4 separate regions of the Homo sapiens genome follow, and regions 1, 2 and 4 are each linked to region 3. The links are contacts of gene promoters, found by promoter capture Hi-C in blood cells and fetal thymus (Javierre and others, 2016). All regions are on one chromosome and are shown on one strand. The core of a region is centred on a gene start or on the middle of the fragment in contact, and the rest is flanking DNA. Distances in the headings are between cores, read along the strand shown. Region 1 has its middle 2.6 kb from the start of ATP2C2-AS1. Region 2 overlaps ATP2C2 (ATPase secretory pathway Ca2+ transporting 2). Region 3 holds the start of WFDC1 (WAP four-disulfide core domain 1). Region 4 overlaps MEAK7 (MTOR associated protein MEAK7).

Region 1 (4,298 bases), core at 841-3,340, 180 kb before region 3:
AGCAGTCTGAGAGGAGTGCTCAGGTACCAATAGTGGTGGCCTCGGCTGGGCCGTCCCCAGTCATCTAGACTGTGTGTTCCAGCATAGGGTGTGTGTATTAGTCCGTTCTCATATGCTGCTAATAAAGACATATCTGAGCCTGGATAATTTCTAAAGGAAAGACGTTTAATTGGCTCACAGTTCAGCATGGCTAGGGAGGCCTCAGGAAACTTACAATCATGGCGGAAGGGGAAGCAAACATGTCCTTCTTCACATGATGGTAGGAAGGAGAAGTGCAGAGCAAAGCAGGAGCAAAGCCCCTTATAAAACCATCAGATCGTGTCAGAACTCACTATCATGAAAACAGCATGGAGGTAACTACCCCCATGATTCAATTACCTCCCCCACCCGGCTCCCTCCCATGACACGTGGAGATTATGGGAAGTACAAGATGAGATTTGGGTGGGGTCACAGCCAAGCCATATCAGCATGTGCGGCAAAGCCAGGCTGGGCGGGCTTGTCTGAGGTCCCTCCATGGCATACGCAGGCATTTTCTGTGGTAGCTGGGGAGGGGGCAGTCCCCAGGCCTCTGGTGGAATGCTTGGGTGGGAGGTAACAGCAGTTGTGCTGTGACCTTGCCACTGGGGAGGGTGAGGCTGCTTTCAGTGGCAGCAGCCCATGCCAGTGAGTGGGAACACGCACCCCACTTGCACCTTGGCAGTGGCAGCCCGCACTTTGCTGTGCCTCTGCCCTGGTGCTGCTGAGCCCCAGGCTGGTGTGCAGTCTCTTGTGGGCTGGGCTCCCATATGGTGTCTTGCTCAAAACTGTACTGTTTAAATTTTTCTACCAAGTGACAGTGAACAGCCTCATTTTTCAAAAGCTTTCTGTATCATATCTTTTTCTTGGTTTTCTAGGGTGTCGGTCTTTTTCTTATCGATTTGTAACAGTGCTTTTAAAAAATAAAATAGAAATGAGGTCTCAATATGTTGCCCAAGCTGGTCTTGAACTCCTGAACTCAAGGGATCCTCCTGCCTCAGCCTCCGAAAGTGCTGGGATTACAGGTGCAAGCCACCACACCCGGCCAACAGTGCTTTTTATGAATGAAGTAGCATTTCCCATGTATGGTCAATGTTTTCTACGGTTTATTTGACTTCGTTTGTGGCGTTTTTCTGCCCATAAATTTTACAGTTTCTGTCATATTTCCCAGCATTTCTGCTTAAGGGTCTTTGGATTTGCCGTTTGTTTAGGCAGTCTGTCTCTACTCTGAGTATTAAAAATCATTTTCTTCTACTGTGGTTTCTGTTTTTACCTCTTAAATCTTTTATCTATTCAAAAGGCTTTTATATATATATATGTGTGTGTGTGTGTATATATATATATTTTTATGTGTGTGTATATATATAAATTATATATGTGTGTGTGTGTATGCATATATATATATATATATATATTTTTTTTTTACTTTTTGAGATGGAGTCTCACTCTGTCACCCAGGTGGAGTGCAGTGGTGTGATCTCAGCTGACTGCAACCTCCGCCTCCTAGGTTCAAGACATTAGCCTGCCTCAGCCTCCCGAGTAGCTGGGATTACAGGTGCTTGCCATCACACCTGGCTAATTTTTGTATTTTTAGTAGAGATGGGGTTTCACCATGTTGGCCAGGCTGGTCTCGAACTCCTGACCTCAGGTGATCCTCCCATTTTAGCCTCCCAAAGTGCTGGGATTACAGGCATGAGCCACCGTGCCTGGCCTTCAAAAGGCATTTAAACATATAGTCCTATCTTAGCCCAAAATAAAGTCCCATTACCTTGTATATTAAGTGGTTTGTCTTTTCCCATTGACTTCTAATGATACTTTGTCATCAGCTGAGTTTCTGTATGAATTGAGGTCTCTCTCATGTTTTAATTGCTGGAATTTGGTGATAAAAATATGTAAGAGCCGTTTTTCTCTTACTACTGTTTTTTGGAATTTTTCGGCAAATGCTTGGCTGCTTATTTTCTCCGACCTTTGCACTGTGACCACTTCTAAAAAATAGGATAGTACTTTCCAAATGGTTCTGCCTATGTTAATGTATATTTAATGCTGACATTTGGCTAACGTTGATGCTTCTATCCAAGAACAGGGACATCTAGCTTCTTAGGTAAATTTTTATTGTCATTTCTGGGACTGTCAGTGGACATTTTTTCCTAAGTGATGGTTATTTTAACATAGGAAGCTCTTGATTTTTGTAGTTTTTATTCCCAGTTACCTTACTGAATTCTTTTTTTTTTTTTTTTCTTTTTGAGATGGAATCTTGCTCTGTCATCCAGGCTGGAGTGCAGTAGCGTGATCTTGGCTCACTGCAATCTCCGCGTCCTGGGTTCAAGCAGTTCTCCTGCCTCAGCCTTCCGAGTGGCTGGGACTACAGGTGTGCAACCACCATGCCTGGCTGATGTTTTGTATTTTAGTAGAGATGAGGTTTCACCATGTTGGCCAGGATGGTCTCAATCTCCTGACCTTGTGATCTACCCACCTCAACCTCCCAAAGTGCCAGGATTACAGGCGTGAGACACCGTGCCGGTTTTTTTTTTTGTTTGTTTTTTTTTTTTGAGACAGGGTCTTGCTCTATTATCCAGGCTGGAATGCAGTGACATGACCTCAACTCATTTCAGCCTCTGCCTCCAGAGTCAAGCAATCCTCCCACCTCAGCCTCCCGAGTAGCTGGGACTACAGATGCACACCACCACTCCCAGCTAAATTTCGTGTTTTTTGTAGAGGTGGTTTCGCCATGTTGCCCAGGTTGGTCTCAAACCCCTGAGCTCAAGCAATCCACCCACCACAGCCTCCCAAAGTGCTGGGATTCCAGGCATGAACCACCGTTCCAGGCCTCTTACTGACCTCTTTTATCCAGTAGTTCTCCCCGCTTGAGCATGCATCAGATTTGCCTAGAGAGCTTCTTAAAATGCATATTGCAGGTCTGCATTCCTGCTTCTGATGATGTAGGTGAGGATGGGATTAACTCTTGACAACCTTATCCATTTCTTTTACCATTGGATTGTTTTAAATCTCTGCTGGAAGTCTTCAAATTACTTTATGTAATATTGACCCCAAAGTATTGAAACTCTTTTGTAGTTATGTTTTTTTTCCTTTTCTTGTGTTTTCATTTTCCTAGATTGGATTCAGTTACTAATTTTGCTTTTATATTATTCCTGCTTTTCTTCAGTTTTTTTTTTTCAGTTTTTTGAGTTATTTTACTAAATAAAAAATAATGGAAGTAGATGAATACATAAAGCTATTACTTTTTTCTTGGGCCCTGAGTTATTTTGCAGTATTGTATAGATAGGTGTGTGTTGATCATAAGCTTCTAGATTTTCTGTGGCCTTCATTTTGATTTTCTCTTGTACCCAAGAGTTTTTAAATTTTGCTGTGCTAGAGAATTTCCCCTAGTCCTGTCACTCGTCTTTAAATTAGATTGCATAGTGATTAGAGATGTCATCTGTATTATTATTTTTTTAAGACAGAGCCTCACTTCATTGCCCAGGCTGGAGTGCCATGGTGTGATCTCAGCTCACTGCTACCTCTGCCTCCCAGGTTCAAGCGATTCTCCTGCCTCAGCCTCCCGAGTAGCCTGGGATTACAGGCGCCCACCACCATGCCCAGCTAATTTTTGTATTTTTAGTAGAGATGGGGTTTCGCTATGTTGCCCAGGCTGGTCTCAAACTCCTTACCTCAAGTGATCCAACCGCCTCGGCCTCCCAAAGTTCTGGGATTACAGGTCTGAGCCACCATGCCCGACCAAGAAGTCATCTATATTAGATCTACTCTTTGGAATCACTGAGGTTTTGTGTCCTTTCATGTGGTAAGTTAATATAATGAATTTTCTGTATCCTTTGCCTGAATTTCCCATACTGTTTCCTCTTTAAATTTGAATGTTGTGTTGGTACATAGTCTGGCCTATGGATTTTTCAGTGGTGATTATATCTTGTTAAATTTCCTTCTTGGTCTCCTTTAATGCTTTTGGCCTTTCTTTTAATCTTGTCTGATTAGACTGTGTCACCTTGGTCTTGTGTGTTGTTTGTCTTTACCTGGTGTATTTTTGCCCTATGAGTATATCTTATCTTCTTACACACTTTGAAATAATTTTAGATTCATATAGACTTCCAAAAATTGTACAGGAGTTTCTGTCACTCCATGAGTGAGTGGATAAAGAAATTGTGGTACATCCATGCAGTGGAATACTAGTCAGCCATGAAGAAGAACACACATAAAACAACTTGAAGGGACCTTACAGGTATTATGCTTAGTGACAAAAGCCAGTCTTAAAAGGTTCTATACCATGATTC
Region 2 (4,151 bases), core at 62-2,561, 150 kb before region 3:
TATTGCCGTCAGCATGCTGCCTGACTCCTTGGGACGGGTGACCTCCTTGACTAGGGACCCTGCTTGAATGCACTTAAAAGTCAATGTTACATGCAAGCTTAAAGCTCTGGGCCGGGACCACAGGCACTGACCCCGCAAACCGAGCGACCCCATCCTCTTCTCTTCCTGCAGGCAGAATGACCTCTGCTGGGGCGTCAGCGGCAGGGGGATGCCCCCGTTGTTGTACATGGTGCAGTAGCGGATCACCTCTTCCAAGGCCCCTTTCATGAAGTAAATGTCTTCCTGATCCTTAGAAAAGACAAAGGGAAGAAATCCACTATCACTGGAAGCCTTGGTTCATACTGACCATCACCCCACTCTGCACAAGGTTACAAAGACACACACGGGGATCTTTGCAGCGGAGTTATTTATCATAGGCTGGTGCTGTTCACAGGTGCTGGACAGGTTCGCGAAGTTCTAGAATCCATCCATGGAACGTTTTGCAGTCCAGAGAAAGAACAAGGCCAATCTTCAACCTGTACTACCCTTGTTCTTTTTTCAGTTCCCTTGTTATGGTCACTCAGAGCGTCTTGTATGTTTCATGCACGGGAGGTATCATCCCAGCTGGGACTGTGCCTTTGGGGGTGTGATTAACTGGGAATATTTCCATTAGACTGTTGCCTCCCTAGGGCAGCACCAAGTCTATTTTGTACCCACCCCCAGCACTTGGCTTGTAATAGTGAAGCCACATGAGTAGCTGATCATTTTTCCTGTGTTTTTCTTAAGCTCTGTCATGACAAACATGTAGACTATGAACTCCACGGGGGGAGGCCCTGGGTCAGTGAGAGTCACACTGTACCCCTAGCCTCAATACCGGACATACCTGGCTCACGTGGGTGCACAGTGTGAATGTAACACTGTTATAAGATAATATAATATTAATTATATATGTTATTAATATGTAATTAACATATTAATGTTATTAATAAATATAATATTAATTACAGATGTTAATACATTAATTATAGTACATATGTATTGTATATTATTTATATGTATTATATTACATTATATTATTTATATGTATATTATATATTATATATAACTAATATATTCTTATACAATTATAATATATATTACATAATATATATTAAATAATATATGTAATATATGTAATATATATTACATATTATATAATTAATATGTTAATATAACAAGCTTATATTAACCAACACAGACATCTAAGACATAATATTAAAAGAAAATCTTAGGGGGAAAAAGCAAATTACACACACTATAAATAGTGACCTTGTTTTGAAAATACCATCCAGATGTTGTCGTTTGCATATTTAAAATCTGCAATGCTCCATCCCAGACTTAAAATAGAATTACCTCTGGGTGGGTGGTGGGGAGGGAGGGAAGAAGGGTGGAATGAAAGAAGCTTTCATTTTTATGTCATATTTCTATACTTTTTCAATGAGAATATATTACCATTGCCTTGCAAGGGAAAAGATTTAAAGGTCTAAAAGTTTTTTGAAAATCTATAATCCCTTCTAAGCCCCTGAAATGTACATGTGTCCATCCATGCACAGGAAGGGCCTGGCATGAGCTGGCTGAGCTGCCCACAGCCCTGAGTGGGAGCTGAGCAGTCTGCGTGGGCAGACATGATAGATTCTAGAAAGAGTGGGAGGGAAGAGGAGGGGTGGAGAAAACGGTAGAAGGCAACAAAAACTTTAAAAAATAGCTTTTAAGGAAAATCTGAAAAGCCACAACAAATCTGAAAAGAAAATTTTAAAAATCAGCTGTAATGTCCACCCGGGGTGGCCATAGCTTGGTATGTGTTCCTCTAGCCAGGGACAACACGTGTGCACACGCTGATGCACCACACAGACACGCCTTCCGTACTGAAGGATTTGCTCCCCAGTATGACGGGGAGATGAGCTAAGAAGTATAAAAAACTTAGCACAGGGCTGCAAAGAGAGGACTGGCAAGTTGGCGACTGGTGTTAGCAGCAGGGCCTCAGTCACTGGATTACAGGCTGGTCGATCTCAACATTTGCACCTGCATCAGAATCTGCAGAAAATGAAGGTTACTGGGTCCCACCCCTGGACCCTTCGACTCAGGAGGTCTGGCATGGAACCTGAGATTCTGCATTTCTAATAAAGTCTCGCGTGGTAACAACCGCTGCTACTCCAGGGACCCTGCTTTAAGAACTTCTGTTTTAAACAAAAAGCCAGAAGCAGACCCAAGAGAATCAAAGGTATGATGGTGATTAAGTTTTTCCATGTATTTGGAACGTCACAGAAGCAGCCAGGAACTTTCAAATTATCCTTGAAGTCTGCATTTTGCTTTATCTCTGGGTGGGGGCCCGGGCAGAAAGAGAGAAGAGGTTGAAGATTGAAAGGTCTCACCTCAGTCTTCAGACTGCATTTCACCGCCATCCACTTCTGCTCTGAACTGAATGGAATCTCTTTTTTTCTTATATATGAATTTTTAATATCACTTAAGTCCATCTAGCATAATAAAATGACACATTTTTAGTGAGTCATCCGAAGCCAATCTCTATACAAAGCTCAGTCCATTTAAATTATTCATTGTTCAAACCACCTCTGGCAGATAAGAAATCCAAGCATTTAGCACATAGAAAAAAGGCCATTTCTCTTGGAATGTCCCACCTAGAAAAAAAAAAAAAAGTCTCTTCTCTTGGCTGAAGGGCAGACAAGACGGTCTTTGCAACAGCTTCTATCTGAAATCTGCTTAGAAACAAACCTGCAGTGTTTCTGCCGGGAGGAATGTTTCAGACTTGAAGGTGTAGCAATTTCTCAGACGGAACCCCCTGAGTCAGTGAGACAGCCCTGCGTCCAGAACATGGGGTCCTTGCCAGCCCCCCGTCCACAGCCTGGGGTCCTTGCCAGCCTGGCCCTTTGTTGCTCTTTGGTGGCTTTTGGATCAGTGATGTGACAACTCAGAATCTCAGTTTCCCCAGGTGTAAACCAGTCATGACCCATGCATCCCACTGTCCCACAGGGGGTGAAAATGCGGTGCAGCAGGGGCACAAAAAACTACTCCTTTTACGTAGAAAGTGCAGATATGCGTACAATACAGTGTATCTACCATATTAAATTTCATGGGGAGGGAGTGGGGTGATTAGGGAAGAAATGCCTAAACCATCTCCTTAGTGGGGTTGAATTGTACCCCACAAAAGATATGTTGAAGTCCTAACCTCGGAACCTCTGAATGTGACCTGATTTGGAATAGCGCCTTTGCAGATATCGTCAATTTGAGGCTATTAGGGTTGGCCCTAAGCCAACATGACTGGATATAAGAGGAGGAAGGCCGGGCATGGTGGCTCATGCCTGTAATCCCAGGACTTTGGGCAGCCGAGGCGGGTGGATCACGGGGTGAGGAGATCAAGACCATCCTGACTAACATGGTGAAACCCTGTCTCTACTAAAAATACAAAAAGTTAGCCAGGCGTGGTGGCAGGCGCCTGTAGTCCCAGCTACTTGGGAGGCTGAGGCAGGAGAATCGCTTGAACCTGGGAGGCGGAGGTTGCAGTGAGCGGAGATCAAGCCAGTGCACTCCAGCCTGGGCAACAGAGCGAGACTCCGTCTCAAAAAAAAAAAAAAAAGAGGAAAACGCTGCGCAGAGGCGTGGCGGGGAGCACCTCGTGACAGAGACAGAGCTTGGTGTGAGAGACCAAGGCAGGGATGCGTCTGCGAGTCAAGGAACGCCCGGGGCTGCCAGTAACACCCAGAAACTGGGAGACGGAGCCTGGCCCTGCTCACACCTTGATTTCAACTTCTGGCCACAGAGCTGTGTTTCAGTGTGTTTTGGTTACACTAAATCACCAGCCAGTGGTGTTTTATTTCAGTAACCCCAAGACCCTAATCCAGGAGCAATAATGGAAGAAAAGCCCGGGAACCACTGGCCTGGCCTCAGTGCCATTTAGAGCAGGTGAGACAGGTAAGAACCACAAAGTGCTTGCCCCATGCCTGTCACACAGGCAGCACTTCCTACATGCCAGCCAGTGTTTGTTCTGTATTCCAAAATCTTAAGCCAGGCCCCAGGAAAAAGGAAAATTATAACACATCAAGGAAATCTCTTCTGGGTGCTGGAACCTCTCTCCTCTCTAGGCTGCAGGGACGGCTGGTGGCGGAAGCAAGGTGACA
Region 3 (4,757 bases), core at 1,958-4,457:
TTTGTGATCATGGCTGTGTGGAACAAAACTGGCTCTCCAGAGGGGGTGCAAGCCAGTTCAGCACACAGCCAGCATCTCCTCACTCTGACGAGCCCATAGCCCTTGAGGGTCAGGGCCAAGGCTGAAGGTCTCACTCAGCGTAGGGTGAGGGAGTGGTGCCTCACGGGGAAGTCTCGACTTTGTGCATGTGGGGGCTGCTTCCTATCATCCGTAAGTCCCTGTCGAACGAAAGGGCCATGAAAGTCATAGGTTCTCCATCTTCATTTCCCAGGTGAGGACTGAGGACCAGAGAAGGGCAGCGAGTGGTCCAAGATTGCACAGCACATTAGAGATTTCACTGTGATAAGTTCCAGGCCAGGTGCTCTTCCCAGCCCTCCCTGTCCTCTGAGCCACAGGCGAACAGCCTGTCTTCGCCCAGGGCTTTCTCTGAGGCACAGTTTTTTTTTTTTTTTTTTTTTTTTTTTTTTGAGACAGAGTTTCACTCTTGTTGCCCAGGCTGGAGTGCAATGGCACAATCTCGGCTCACTATAACCTCCACCTCCCGGGTTCAAGCAATTCTTCCACCTCAGCCTTCTGAGTAGCTGGGATTACAGGCATTTGCCGCCACACCCAGCTAATTTTGTATTTTTAGTAGAGATGGGGTTTCACCATGTTGGTCAGGCTGGTCTTGAACTCCTGACCTCAGGTGATCCACCCGCCTCGGCCTCCCAAAGTGCTGGGATTACAGGCATGAGCCACCGTGCCTGGCTGGCACAGTTGTTCTGCATAAACCTCACCTATGTCTAGGCGCTGAGGAAGGAGGCCAATATCTGTTGATAACCAGGGAAAGTTTCAATTCAGCGAGGAGCCAATTCAAAGCACTTGCATCCTGACCAGTGGTGGCTACAAGTGAATCAGCTCCTGCAGCCCACCCAGGCCTGTGTTTTAGAGACTCCCCCAAATCCCCCGCGCATATCAACCCTGACCCTCCTATGTGGATGTCACAGTGCTGGCTCCTATGACATCTTGGGACATGGTGGAGATAAAATCAGATGACATATTGGCAATCTCTCTATGGTTGTAGAACCAAAGTGCTACTAACTACAGTTGAGGGTTAAATCATCCTGTTGCACCAGAGAAGAGCATGGAGGAGTCAATAAAATCTGAGAAGAGTCTCTCACCCCTCCTCAATGCCTCCCCTCTGGCCAGGTCTGGTCTCCCAAGCAGCTCTTAGATGCACCACTTCTGCCTGTGAGCCTCGGCTCATGCTGAGCCTTCTTCCAGGAATTTCCTTCCTCCTCCTAATTCCTAATCCTTCCCCAAGATCCAGTCAAGGTCTCCACCTCCTCCAGGAAGCCTTAGGTGACTACACCATCTCACATGAGCTTTCCCTTCTCCAAGCGCCTCATCATGTCACTCTACTACTCTTTCCACTTCTCGAAGTCCTCCTGTCTCCCGCCACGAGCATGTGCCGAACATGGAGAATATGAGCCCTGGAGGCCCAGATTTGTCTCAATACAGTTTCAGGCACCCCACTATGCCTGGGGTCATTAATCATTCTCCCTTCCCTCTTCTCCAGCTGGCAAACTCCTATTTATCCTTTAAAGCCACAGGTCCACTGTCCCCAACCCTAAAAACCCTGTCTGACTCTCCTGGGGAAGAGCTGCACACGCATCCCGTGCTACCACTGCAGCCGCTCATAATTCACCCACAAGAATGTACCAGGCGTCAACTTAATGGCAGGCACCAGGGGCACACATTAGTGAAACAGAACCCTGCCCTACCCCAAGGAACCTACATGCTACCCTGTTAGGCAACACCAAACAAAGTCACAATTATTTGATTGAAAGCTGCCAAGATGCACTGCCAGCTTGCTATGTTGCAAAGACGTTCTACATACTGAGACATTCAATCCTCACACAGGTGCTGTGGGTGCCAGCATTACCTTCTTGAGCCCTCTGTGTGCTGATATCGTCCTGGCTCACTCCGTCCCTGCGGATCTGTGATCTCTGGGGGGTGGGAGGAACCAAAAATGATAGCCTCCTCCACCCCATTCTCTCTCCTAGTTCCCTTCCTGCTTTATTGCTTCCTCAGCACTTGCAATCTGCACATACTAATAAATGAGATCTCTCTCATTTATTCTTTGCTGCCCCCAGCCCCCCATTGAGTTCCCCAGGCAGAGATGTGAGGCCTGTATCCCCACAGCCTAGGACAGTACCTGGTAAACAGTGGCGACCCAGACATAGTTGTGTGAAGAAATGCATCCCTCTGTCTTTTGCAGATGAGATTGCTGGGGTTCAGAGACGTCAAGCAGCTTGCCTGAGAGAAGCCACGCAGCTAATGAGCAGCAGAGCCCGATTCACACCCAGACATCTGGCCCCAGGGCATGTGTTTCTTGCCACTCACTGCCTCATGCCTTCTCTTTGTACTGCCATCGTTTGTCACCCAACTGCCTCTGCACCTCGGCCACGCCACCCTTGAGGATGGGGGCTGGTACCTCCTTTATCTTGTATCCACAGGACCCCACAGAGTGCCTTCCCCAGAGCGGTTTCTGCTAAATTCTGTTTAACAGAGTGTATTCATTCTGTTTGCTGAATGAATAAACAACCACATGAATGCATAAGTGTATTTCACAAACATTTGGTACTGATCAGGGAGACGGAATGCTCCGTTTAAATCCTGGGGTTCCGAAATGAGATGCTGTCTTTCAGGAGCAAGCATACTTTTGTAACAAGGCAAAAGTAAGGCACGATTCTTTGGCACATTTGTGATGTGTCTTTTGCCTCTTGATTCACAGATAAGGGTCCTTTTTTGGGGGTGAGCCCCATCTGCCCACCACACAACTCAGACACACACGGATAGGAAGACGCCTGCCTTGCCACGTTTTGGGGGAGCACTTACAGGAGAAGGCAGTGTCTAGGGATCGCCTCTCCTCAAGGCTGACTCCCACCCACACAGGCTGCCCCAGCCTCCCCATCCCAGGCACTTACACGGGATTTCTCGGCCAGCCTCGCAGGCAATGCCCGTTTCCAGATATTCTTGGCAGAGCCGGCGTGGAGGAGAAGTAGCAAGAGGCACAGAGCCCGGATGATCTGCCTCCTGCAGCTGCCCGGCCCCACGCCGGTTAAAGGCATTTCCTCCCTGGGCAGCGACCTTCCAGACGCACACAGAAGAGGGGCCCCCCTCGCTGCGTGGGCCTGTGAGTGGGGACAGGAGCGTGCACAGTCTGCTGGACTTTCTTAGTTCCACCCAGCAGGGTCCCTCGGATCATGTGTCCGCGTCCAGCACATGCCCCTTCCTCGATGGTGGCTGGCCTGCCCGGTTATTTTTAGCTTGCCCTATAACATCTGGCCCCAGACGCTCCAACCAGGGCGTCTGCAGCCCAGGCAGCTCAGTGGGCGGTGGCAGCAGGAGGAGGGGGCACCGGCTTGCTTGGAGACGTGGCCGGGAGTGGCCTGTCACTCTCCACTCTCCATAATGAGCACTTCCTTGCAGGCTGGGGCGGTCTCCTCCCAAGGAGGTGTGCTTGACACAGGGCTCGGGGCTGGACATGCAGGGGAGTGCAGCCGGATGGGTGGGGGCTCGGCTGCTACCTTGTTCACATTTCGAGCTGGGCTGACAAACTATCTGCCTATAAAAGCTTCTTTGAAAGAGGCTGCTGGACTGGCACTGGCCAAGGGTGCAGCCATGAAGAGACGACTTCCACCCTTGCACCCGCCGGGGTCCTCCTGCCTGATGTGGGCATGTGGGTAGTTCCTCATAGCGTGTGTTTCCTGTGAGATTTAAAAGAAATTGAGCACATAAAGCATTTCACACACATAAGTGTGCTGTCACTGTCAGCCGGTGTATCTGCACATGTGCATTTATGTGTATGCGTGTGTGCACGTGGGTGTGCATGTGCACGTGTGTGTTTTACAGGAATGTAGCACAGCGGGCTCAACATTTCACAAACTTCATATTCCCTTGTCTGTTCTCAGCACTTCCAAGACAGATACTGGTTTTTTGTTTTGTTTTGTTTTTCGAGACGGGTCTTGCTCTGTCACCCACGCTGGAGTGCAGTGGTGTGATCACAGATCACTACAACCTCTGCCTCCCGGGTTCAAGCGATTCTCCTGTCTCGGCCTTCCAAGTAGCTGGGATAACAGGCATGTGCCACCATGCCTGGCTAATTTTTGTATTTTTAGTGGAGACTGGGTTTCACCATGCTGGCCAGGCTGGTCTCAAACTCCTGACCTTAAGTGATCTGCCCGCCTCAGCCTCCCAAAGTGCTGGTATTACAGGTGTGTGAGCCACCACACCCGGCCCCAAAACAGACACTGTTTTGATGCCCGCTTTACAGATGAGGAAACAGAGGGGGCTGCCTGAGGTCATGCAACAGCAGCAGAGAGGAGGCTGGAACCCAGGTAGGTCAGACCCTGTGGCACCCCCCTAGGCGAAGCAGAAGGGACCCAAGCACTAGGCTTGACGCACCTGCCTGATCCCAGTTCAGCCTCTGCGAGATGCTGGAAAGCCTCTTGCTCATGGTCCTCAGTTCTCTCATCTGTGAAATGGGCATGTGAAAGTCTCTGCCTCTTGAGATCGATGTGGGGCTACAGGAGAGGGTGCCAGCTGTGCCCAGCACTTGCACAGAGTGAGTGCTCCAGAAAGATTGGTTCCTCCCTCCCTGGGGACCCTCACCCCCCACCTCCTGGCCAGCACAGCCTTCAGAATGCCCTGGGCAGGTATCATCAACCCCTCTTGGCCTTTTAGTGAATGACAATAGTGGCAAACACATATAG
Region 4 (4,136 bases), core at 28-2,527, 190 kb before region 3:
CCAGCTTTTAGTTTCATTAATTTTCTGTTGTCTTTCTAGTTTCTATTTATTTTCCTCTAGCTTTTATTTTCTTCCTTCTGTTTGCTTTAAATTTGTTTGGTCTTCTTTTCCTAGTTTCTTAAGATAGAATACTAGGTTATTGATTCGAGATCTTCTTTTTCAAATAAGCATTTACACTTGCACATTTCCCTTTCAGCACTGCCTTCGCTGCATGCCATAAGTTTTGATAGGTTATGTTTTTATTTTCATTGATCTCAATATTTTCTAATGTCCCTTAGGATTTTTTCATTTGGCCTACTGGCTATGTAACAGTGTGTTATTTAATTTCTCCATGCCTGTGAATTCCTCAAATTGCCTTTTAGTACTGATTTTTGATTATATTTCATTATGTTTAGAGAAGATACTTTGTATTATTTGAATCCTTTAAAATTTGTTGATGCATCATTTATGGCCTATAGTATGGTCACTTCTGGATAATGTTTAAAGCACATTTGAGAAGAATGTGTATTCTGTTGTTGGGTGAGAAGCAGTATATATTTAAATTTAATTGGGATTAAAAAAAAAAACCTTGTGGCAAATCACTTTGCAAAGCAGACTTACTTTATAAATATGTTGCCCTTTTGTTTTAAAGCCAGATTTTAAAGTACAGCTTGAAAATAGGTTATATTTCAGAAGTTAGTTTAGATGAGGTATTTGGAACTTGGAAAGAATTTTACAAGTAAGTATCAGTAATTCGTCTTATGGGTAAACTGTTCATCCATCTAGAATCAGTATGTTTTAAAAGAAGAATCATGAAAATAAAAATTAAAGTTTTCAGTGAAGTAGAAAAGGTAATTCAGACGATTAAAATTATCCTTAAGATTTCAAGTAATATATAGGTAATGAGAAATGAAACTGTTTGAAAAATAAATAGAAATGATAGGAATTTTGAATTATCAGAAGTTGGGAGTACTTTTACATTTCCTGCTTAATAAAATGGGCCTGAGTTACACAAAATATTTCAGCTTAGTCAAATTTTCGCTAGGTTGGGAATTATAATCTCTGTAAATGGGGCCTTTGTGTCAGCAAGAGCTTAAGACGTAAAAGCTCCTCTGTTCCTTGTAATAACCGAGCGGGGCAGGTTCTGGCCTTACCTCCATTTTATACCTGAGGAAACTGAGGCACAGAGGTCCAGACCTTGGCAAGGTCATGCTGTTCCTGAGCTCGGGTTTGAAGCCAGCTGTTCGAGTCCCAGGTGTGTGCTCCCACGCTCTTACTGTCACCTCCACTCTTAGTGGGTGAGGGATGGAAAATAGGGCTCCAAGTGCTGTATGATTAAGCCTGATTAGTGGCGAATGAAACCCGCACTTCCCAGATAAACTGCAGGAGTCCCAGGAAGTGCCCTACCAGCCCCTTGACTGGCTGGGAACATTCCCCTTCCAGTGACCTTGGCAGGACCGACGCCCTTGGATGAGCGGCTCCAGGTGTAGCTCAGGCATTTATTCCAGCCCCATTGCCAGGGCACTGCCATCTCGAGGGGTTCTGAAATGCTGCTTGGAGAGGAGAGAAAAGTGTTGAAGTCGGATTGTTTAGATCAGTGCTGGCCAATAGACAAAGCAAGCCCCATGTGAAATTTTCCCTTTTCTAGGGACCATGTTAAAAGAGTAAAGAGAAACAGGGGAAAACTGATTCTAATAATATGTCCTAAATACAATTTTGAAATGTAATGAATATTTAAAAATTGAGATATTTTACATTCTTTTTTCATACCAAATCTTTGAAATCAAGTGTGCCTTTTACACTGACGGCACCTCTCAATTCACACGAGCCCTGTTTTCTGTGCTCAGTAATTGCATGTGACTCGTGGCTCCCACACTGATCAGTGTGGGTTTAGATAGTAGCTAAATGGTGACATAACAGCCCCACTAATGCTGACCATCCCCTTCCCCTAGATGGCAAGAGACTTCTGGGGCCCCAGTGGCTGGACTATGACTGTGACCGAGCTGTGATCGAGGACTGGGTGTTCAGGGTCCCCCATGTGGCCATATTCCTGAGTGTGGTCATTTGCAAGGGCTTTCTCATCCTGTGCTCGTCTCTTGATCTGACTACCCTGGTCCCTGAGCGTCAAGTGGACCAGGGCAGGGGTTTTGAGAGCATCCTGGATGTCCTCTCTGTCATGTACATCAACGCCCAGCTGCCTCGGGAGCAGCGGCACCGCTGGTGCCTGCTCTTTTCGTCTGAGCTCCATGGACACAGCTTCTCCCAGCTCTGTGGCCACATCACTCACCGGGGACCCTGTGTGGCTGTCCTCGAGGACCATGACAAGCATGTGTTCGGTGGGTTTGCCTCTTGCTCTTGGGAGGTGAAGCCTCAGTTTCAAGGTAAGACTTGGTGTCCTGAACCTTGACGAGTGGCACAGCACGGGCAAAGAGCTCTGGAGAAAGGGAGAGGGTGGGGGTGCTAAATAGGGCTCTCCCATCTTCTCCAAGTGTTTCTCTAGACGCAGTCGGGGCGATAGGAAAATGTGATGCTGCTCTATGGTGTTTATCACATCAGAGTTCTTCAGGACAGGCCGTGTGACCCCCAGTTTTCAGGCGAGGACACGGGCCCAGTTATTACACGGTGCCGGGTCTATGGGGCGTGGGAGAAGTCAAGCCACAGATGCCTCCGAGGGGACCAGGAGATGGTAATTGGTTCAGATCGGACATTTTCCTTCCCTGGGCCTTCCTGCCCCTGCCCCCACCGCCACGCGTTTGCTTGTTGGAATTTGGAAGCTTTGTGCATGACCTTGAATGCACTGGATGAAAGGTTCTAAGTAAATTCTTTTCCTTCCCTCAAGGAAGAATACTCTGATGAAAAGAGTCCTTTAAAAATATTTAAAACACAGGCCAGGTGCAGTGGCTCACACCTGGAATCCCAGCATTTTGGGAGGCTGAGGCAGGAGGATCACTTGAACCCAGGAGTTTGAGACCAGCATGGGCAACATAGTGAGACCTTGCCTCTATCTTAAAAAAAAAAAAAAAATAATAAGGCTGGGCGTGGTGGCTCAAGCCTGTAATCCCAGCACTTTGGGAGTCCGAGGCAGGTGGATCACTTGAGGTCAGGCATTTGAGACCAGCCTGGTGAACGTGGTGAAACCACGTCTCTACTGAAAGTACACAAATTAGATGGGTGTGGTGGCGCATGCCTGTAATCCCAGCTACGTGGGAGGCTGAGGCATGAGAATTGCTTGAACCTCGGAAGCAGAGTTGCAGTGAGCCGAGATCATACCACCGCACTCCAGCCTGAGCAACAGAGCGAGACTCCATCTCTAGATAGATAGATAGATAGATAGATAGGTAGATAGATGGATGGATGGATGGATGGATGGATAGATAGATAGTTTTTGAAATGTTTACAGATGCGTCGCCCATCAGTGGGCTGTCCTCTGTACTTGAGAGTGGGCCACCATCCCCAGGGTTTGCCTTTGGCATTCCCCGGTACATCCTGTATCTTACCCCGCACCTCTGGAATCGTCATTTCTCCACCAGGCAGAGGTTCTGAAGGCCGGGAACTGTGTCCAGGTGGAGTTGCCCTTGCAGGAGAGCTTTCAGCAGAGGCTAGGTGGCATCTGGCTGGAATAGGTAGCAGGGGTCACCAGGTTGAGGGTTGGGCACCTCTATCTCCTAGATTGCATTGTTTCTAGGGTTTGATTTATATCTAGGTTTCAGGATGTTCTAGATCTTTATCTTAGTTCTGGGAATGGTGGGAATTCTCCCCAAATCAAAGTTTCCAGGTGCCAGCCCAGGGCCGGCCCTGCAGGTGGGCCTTTCTAGAGACAGCAGCCTCAGCCTTGCCACGGCCACTCTCTTCTGCACACCCACCTTGCCCTGCCTCCATGTCACAGGCATAGGGCATGTGCCCACCAGCCCAGCCTCGGGCTCCGGGGAAATTACACATTGCTCTGCCTCACTGCATGGCTGAAGGCTCGGCTTTAGGATATGAAGAGACCCTGAGCATCATGATCAGGGTAAAGCTGCTGCTCCCTCCAGAGCCTTTAATGTTAATTTCAGATGGACTCTGCTGGCTCTTTATGTTTTATTAACAAGCAGACTTAATCTTGCTGAAGCATGTGGGAAAAATGCAGTGGCCAAGTTTTCAAACCCGAGTTCATTCTG

Evidence for each region. Contacts are between HindIII fragments. The CHiCAGO score rates a contact against its expected background, and 5 or more counts as called.
Region 1: a contact is called between a fragment that was not itself captured here and the fragment with the promoter of WFDC1 in region 3, in 1 of 17 cell types (M1 macrophages). The highest score is 6.5, in M1 macrophages.
Region 2: a fragment that was not itself captured here is called in contact with the fragment with the promoter of WFDC1 in region 3 in 5 of 17 cell types (M1 macrophages, M2 macrophages, M0 macrophages and 2 more); the score reaches 9.6 in M1 macrophages.
Region 4: a fragment that was not itself captured here is called in contact with the fragment with the promoter of WFDC1 in region 3 in 4 of 17 cell types (M1 macrophages, M2 macrophages, M0 macrophages and 1 more); the score reaches 9.0 in M1 macrophages.

The regions. Positions count from the first base shown.
Region 1 is chr16:84,467,802-84,472,099 of GRCh38, reverse strand. No RefSeq gene overlaps it. Among named protein-coding and RNA genes, the nearest start is that of ATP2C2-AS1, 2.6 kb to the right of the region's middle. The HindIII fragment of the contact is 2,457 bases long and covers 862-3,318 here.
Region 2 is chr16:84,444,670-84,448,820 of GRCh38, reverse strand. ATP2C2 (ATPase secretory pathway Ca2+ transporting 2) reads right to left here. Exons shown (of 27, transcript NM_014861.4): 16 at 2,391-2,492; 17 at 132-288. Among named protein-coding and RNA genes, the nearest start is that of ATP2C2-AS1, 21 kb to the left of the region's middle. The HindIII fragment of the contact is 223 bases long and covers 1,200-1,422 here.
Region 3 is chr16:84,293,328-84,298,084 of GRCh38, reverse strand. It overlaps WFDC1 (WAP four-disulfide core domain 1), which reads right to left and starts at 3,207. Exons shown (of 7, transcript NM_021197.4): 1 at 2,970-3,207. The coding sequence starts at 3,113. It overlaps LOC124903734, which reads right to left. Exons shown (of 6, transcript XM_047435022.1): 5 at 4,450-4,568; 6 at 3,247-3,752. The coding sequence ends at 3,247. The HindIII fragment of the contact is 4,383 bases long and covers 1-3,621 here.
Region 4 is chr16:84,484,855-84,488,990 of GRCh38, reverse strand. It overlaps MEAK7 (MTOR associated protein MEAK7), which reads left to right. Exons shown (of 8, transcript NM_020947.4): 5 at 1,932-2,360. Among named protein-coding and RNA genes, the nearest start is that of MEAK7, 18 kb to the left of the region's middle. The HindIII fragment of the contact is 2,956 bases long and covers 1-2,755 here.